Regions from separate parts of the Homo sapiens genome. Here region 2 is linked to region 1. Evidence: promoter capture Hi-C in 16 types of primary human blood cells and fetal thymus (Javierre and others, 2016). All regions are on one chromosome and are shown on one strand. The core of a region is centred on a gene start or on the middle of the fragment in contact, and the rest is flanking DNA. Distances in the headings are between cores, read along the strand shown. Region 1 holds the start of ZNF433 (zinc finger protein 433). Region 2 overlaps LOC105372269 (a long non-coding RNA gene).

Region 1 (2,973 bases), core at 286-2,785:
TCAGGAAATATGCGGCCAGAGTACACAAGATTCCCAACCTTCTCACTTGCTCCTGTGGATAATATTATTGTTGTAAGACCTAAGATTGGTGTTTGAGGTATTTTTGAGACCCTTCATTCTGATAAATTTGCTGGCATCACACAGACCAATAAACTGGCTCACCTGCTCCAGTGGCCCCTAGCCAAGAACTGACTCAGTGCAAGAAGACAGCTGAGACTTCCTGTGATATCCTTTTCGCGACCAATCAGCATTCCCCATTTTCCAGCCTTCTGCTCACCAAATTATCTTTAAAACCCTAGCCTCGGCCGGGTGCGGGGGCTCAGGCCTGTAATCCCAGCACTTTGGGAGGCCGAGGCGGGTGGATCATGAGGTCAGGAGTTTGAGACCAGCCTGACCAACATGGTAAACCCCGTCTCTACTAAAAATACAAAAATTAGCCGGGCATGGTGGCGCATGCCTGTAATCCCAGCTACTCAGGAGGTTGAGGCAGGAGAATCGCTTGAACCCGGGAGGCGGAGGTTGCACTGAGCCGAGATTGCGCCACTGCACTCCAGCATGGGCGACAGAGAGATTCCGTCTCAAAAAAAAACCAAAAAAACAAAACCTAGCCTCCCATTTTTTAGGGAGACAGAATTGAATAAAAATAAAACTCTTCTCTTTCATTTAGCCGGCTCTATGTATATTAAACTCCACTGCAATTCCCTGTCTTTTTTTTTTTTTTTTTTTTCGGAGACAGGGTCTCACTCTGACATCCAGGCTGGTAAAATCACAGCTCACTGTGGCCTCGACCTCTCTGGGCTCAGGCGATCCTCTCATTTCAGCCTTCCGAGTAGCTGGGACTGCAAACATGTACCACCACGCCCGACTAATTTTTGTATTTTTTGTAGAGGCGGGGTTTTGCTATGTTACCCAGGCTGGGCTTAAGTTCCTAGGCTCAAGCAATCTGCCTGCCTTGGCTTCCCAAAGTGGTGGGGTTACAGGCATGAGCTACCCCCACCCCCCCAGCCCACCGCCGGACGAGCTAAAGTTTCTATTCAACAGTACTCTATGGCAGGGGTCCCCAACCCCCGGTCCATGGCCTGTAAGGAACCAGTCCGCACAGCAGGAGGTGAGCGGCTGGCGGGCGAGCCAGCGGGCATTATCGCCAGAGATATGCTTCCTGTCAGATCAGCAGAGGCATTAGTCTGTCATAGGAGCCCGAACCCTATTGTGAGCTGCACATGCGAGGGATCTAGGTTGGGTTCGCCTTATGAGGATAAAATGCCTGATCTGAGGTGGAAGTTTCATTCCGAAACTATCTGCCCCCGTAGGAGAACTGTCTTCCACGAAACCGGTTCTGGTGCTAAAAAGGTTACAGACCTCTGGCTTAAAGAATCTATCGCTGGATCCGGTCAAACCCGTTTTCAGAGCCCCGTTACCAAGGGCTTCTATTGTCACTCACGGCTGAGGGGGCGGGGCCCGGCGCTTCGTCCAATCAGGGGCGCTGGGCGGGGCCTGCCGAGTGTCCATCGGGGAGGGCGAAGGCCCTGCTCTCCTCGGTTCCCGGCTCCAGGCGGCGAGCTGAGGTTGGGAGCCTGGCTTTCCCCTCCGAGAGGGTTCAGGTGCCTCTGCCATAGCTTCTGTCGCCTGTGCTGTGACCCGCACTGGTCGTGGGAGTCACCTGAAAGGCAAGAAATGGTGAGCGTGCGGGCCAGGGGTCCCGAGGCGGGGGAGGAGCTGGTTGGAACCGGCCGGAACCGGCTGTGGTGGGACCCGGGCCTCCCCGCGGCGACTCCGGGGTCTGGGACCCGATTTCCCGTGGGACAGCTCGGCCCTTGGTCCCCTTGGCCCCACAGTGGGGCTGGGCCGGCCGCCGGGACCCGGGCGTCTCGTCCTGTCCCTGCGCGGTGACTGTCACCCAGTTCCCAGAGCCCTCTCTGGGCAGCTCCGCGCCCGCTGCCCCGCGTCTCCCCACATTGTGCGGGGACTACGCGAGGGTCATGGGGGGATCCCGCCTCGGGTGTGGGGGTTTGTGTAGGAGGAGGGTGGGCTGTGGGGTCCCCAGTAGCGCCTTTCTCCTCTTAAAAATTAAACTGAGACACGTTAACAATTATAGTTTTGCTTCTCAGAATAGGTTTTAAAAAATATATTAATAATTAGAGTTCCTTTGAGATTCCTGAATGATAAACACCCAGTCCTGGCTTGTAATTTGTTAACGGAAAATGCCAAGCTGTGTAAAATAACTTAAAGAAGTTTATTCAGAGCCGAATAGGAGAGGCCTCAGCTGAGGAAAACACAACCCCAGGAGGCCTGAAGTAAGTGGTCCCGAGGCGGCTCAAGACTGTTTTTATTCATTTCAGGGAGACAGGAATTGCAGGGAGAATCATGCATCAATGCCTGGAAAGGTGTAAGTTCCTTTGGCAGAAAGGGCGGGACCTGTGGAAGGGGGGTTAGAAGGTGCAGGTGGTTGAGGGATTCTGAAGGTGGCCGTTGGTGGAGAGTGTGAAGCTTTGTCTAAAACTTCGAGGCGGTAGGAAGGATTGCTTAAGTGAAGAGGGTCTGGTATCTGTCATATGATTTCATCCCACCCAAAACAAAAGACCTGTTTCTTTAGATTTTGTGAATTCTAAGATTTGACTTACCTCTTGCCTTGCATGGCCTTAGGTCTTGTTTGTAATTTGGTTTCTTATTGTCACAGAGAGTCTGTGTTTCCAGTTGGCTGATGTCTGTTTTAACATGAAGGTGGGTCAGTGGCTATGTGGAAACTCCTAAAGGAAGCGGGTATAATGAGGCCTGTCCAGGTATAGTGAAGCCTGTCTGATGGTTAATCTGTAGTCAAGTGTGGGAGGGTTCCAGCTGGCTCTTTCCAGTGTCAGGTGACTCAATTCCAGAGTCACATTACTTTAAACTTCAAGATAATTTAGAGTTCCAACAGCTTCAATTTTTGAATTACTTATTTTCACAGACCATACAGTGGAAAATTTTTGGTTGTAT
Region 2 (2,973 bases), core at 199-2,698, 2.6 Mb after region 1:
TAACCAGGTTCCAGTCTGAGTGGTACAAATTTAAATATTTCTGTTATATCATGTACAGCAATTAAGGCTGTTGTTTCTTGGTGATTCTTTCTGTGGTTCTTAATCCAGCCAGTGTAATGGTAATCCAAAGCTTCAGGTAAGTTTACCAATCCTGAATCAGCTGGGTGTAATAGCTTATGCCTGTAATCCCAGCACTTCGGGAGGCCAAGTCAGGCGGATCACTTGGGCTCAGGAGTTCAAGACCAGCCCGGGCAACATGGCAAAACCCTATCTCTACAAAAAATGTAAAGATTAGCCTGGTGTGATGGCACGTGCCTGTAGTCCAACCTACTCAGGAGGCTGAGATAGGTGTCTCACTGACCCCAGGGAGGTCATGGCTGCAGTGAGCTCAGATCGTGCCATTGGACTCCAACCTGGGTGACAGAGGCCTTGTCTCAAAAACAAAACAAAACCAAAAAAACTGAATTGAGGTCCATGCATTTTCATGTTACATGTTTTCTTATGGAGAGGAAAGGGTTTCAGAGTGGTTCTCTTGTGGTATGAGTGTGATTATTTTAACCCATCTTTGTTGCGTTTAACTGTTACCAGTGACACAAAAGACGCAGATTAGTCTTAATTGCCTTGTGTGACTTCTGTCACCTCACAGACTGTCCTTAGATGCCATCCTGATTGTCTCAAATAAAACCTATAGGTTATTCCTGAAACTTTTTCACAGTTGTTGGAGTATGAGCACTTGTGGGTCACAGGTGAGGTCAATACTGTAGGTTGGCCTCATCCTGGTGCTTGGACTAATAGTGATGTATCACTAAGAAATGATACCCTAGTCTCACAGCCTAGAAATTGCCTAGCTTCAGAAGCTGATTTCCTTTTTTATTTTTTTTAGAAGCTGATTTCTGATTGTTTATATAAAATCACTTGATCTTTGTATACTGAATTTTACTAGAAGCCTTGTTCAACATTCTTTAACATCCTAGTTTTATGTATTTTGGGTTTTCCACATTTCATATTATCTGTAACTGACTTAACTTGTAACCTTCAGTCATTTATGTCTTGTCTAGGCAGAAAATACTAGAATAATAACTAGAAGTAGTAAAACAAGCATACTTTTATTTCTAATCCTAATGGCAGATGTTTTCCATCATTACTAATCACTGTATTGGTTGCTGTAGATTTTTAAAAGGTCAAGGTTTTTTTCTACTTTTCATTGCTTAGGGAATCTTTCCCATGAATGGCTTAAGAATTTATTGAATGCTTTTCCCTGATTCCTCTTTGATGATCTTGCCTTACTCAGAAAATTCAGGTACCTAGGACTGACTGTACTTGCCCTTGATAGATACCTAATATTTAAATGTGTAAGTAAATAAAAGTTTTTTTAAAATGTGGAAAGATAACTGATTGACATTCCAATGTTATATTATCTTTGTAATTCCAGAAAAATGCAGTTTGAGTATAATGGATTAACTTTTTTTTTTGCTAGAATATTTTATATACCTATAGTGTAAAGATTTTTTAAAAATATTATTAACATTGGCATGTAATATTTGCCAAGACCAGGTCGGTCATGGAGACCACAATCCAGCAGCACTAGAGGAATAAAGACATAGACAGAAATAGAGTGCAAAGTGGGATCAGGGGGCTAACAGCCTTCAGAGCTGAGAGCCTCGAACAGAGTTTGACCCACCTATTTATTGACAGCCTGTGATAAACATCGTTTCTGTAGTTTGTAGATTAACTGAAAGTATTCTTTAAGGAGAACAAAGGGACAGGCTCTGGCTTGTTATCTGCAGCAGGAGCATGTCATTAAGGCACAGATTGCTTATGCCATTGTTTGTGGTTTAGGAACACCTTGAGCAGTTTTCCGCCCTGGGTGGGCCAGGTGTTCCTTGCCCTCATTCTGGTGAACCAGCAACCTCCAGTGTGTGCATCATAACCATCACGAGCATGTCACAGTGCTGCAGAGATCTTGTTTATGACTTTTCTTATGGCTTGTTTATGGCCAGGCTTGGGGCCTATTCCCAGCATGTCCCCCTTTTTGTTTTACCAGGGCAATAAAAGCAAAGGCGGCTTTATCACAGTGAGCTACTTCTTGCAGGAGTCAGGATCCGCATCTGCAGACTACACAAAGACAAACAACACAGATTAATAGCACAACCATCATAGAAATCACAGAGCCTCCAAGTGTTTTTATGCATTTCATAGGATTTATGGCTGCCAATCCATCTGCAACTCCTTCAAGCACTCCAGTTCCTGGCATTAAGGTCAGGTGTGCCTGGGATGCTTGAAATATTTGTTCTCTTAATTTTGCAACATCCGAAGACAAGTTTGTAGAGTGTCCTTCCAGATACTTTTTTTTATTCTTTCCCATTCATGGTCTAATTCATTATAAGGGTGAGGAGTGATACAAAAGTCAGAAGTATTCCAGTCGCATTTCAGCTGCATTCCATATTCCAAACTAGCTACTTGATCTCCCACCCACATTACAGTTGGTTGGAGATCATTGATTTGATTAACTATCTTTTGGTCTATTTTAGTTTGAGAGTTCCACAGCAGAGTAGAATTCTTTTGCCATTATTTACAAAATCTGCTGTCTGCACTGATGAATGTAGTGCCACTCCAGCTACTGCAGCAGTAGCTGTGACAGCAATCAGTCCCATAATAATCAAGATTAAAGTAGCAATGAAACACTGAGAACTTCTTAGAATTTTCTGAAGAATTTAGTAATAATATGTACAGAGGGAGAGGGTTCCCAAGGATGGGAAAGCTTCGCCGGTAACCAACTCCTTCTTGAGCTCTCACTGCTAGTATAGAATGATTAGTATTAAACAAGGAAGAGTTCACACAAGAGGACAATCTACCTTCCTGGCAAGTTACATGATAATTAGGGGTGTCAAACTTTAGATCGCCCATTACCAACAAAAGGAGGGTGAACACAACTTTGTATCCAAATTGTATTATTTTCAACAAGTTCTAAAA

What was found. The method cuts DNA at HindIII sites, captures the fragments that hold promoters and counts their contacts. A CHiCAGO score of 5 or more calls a contact.
Region 2: a contact is called between a fragment that was not itself captured here and the fragment with the promoter of ZNF433 in region 1, in 1 of 17 cell types (total CD4 T cells). The highest score is 5.3, in total CD4 T cells.

What each region holds. Positions count from the first base shown.
Region 1 is chr19:12,034,241-12,037,213 of GRCh38, reverse strand. It overlaps ZNF433 (zinc finger protein 433), which reads left to right and starts at 1,535. Exons shown (of 4, transcript NM_001308348.2): 1 at 1,535-1,677. The coding sequence starts at 1,675. ZNF433-AS1 (ZNF433 and ZNF878 antisense RNA 1) reads right to left here. Exons shown (of 3, transcript NR_134929.1): 2 at 1,442-1,660. RefSeq lists silencers at 1,421-1,580, 1,821-1,870, 1,881-2,000. The HindIII fragment of the contact is 7,472 bases long and covers 1-2,489 here.
Region 2 is chr19:9,461,168-9,464,140 of GRCh38, reverse strand. It overlaps LOC105372269 (a long non-coding RNA gene), which reads right to left. Exons shown (of 3, transcript XR_007067133.1): 3 at 1,612-2,115. It also overlaps a transcript of ZNF560 not described here. Among named protein-coding and RNA genes, the nearest start is that of ZNF266, 27 kb to the right of the region's middle. The HindIII fragment of the contact is 2,631 bases long and covers 133-2,763 here.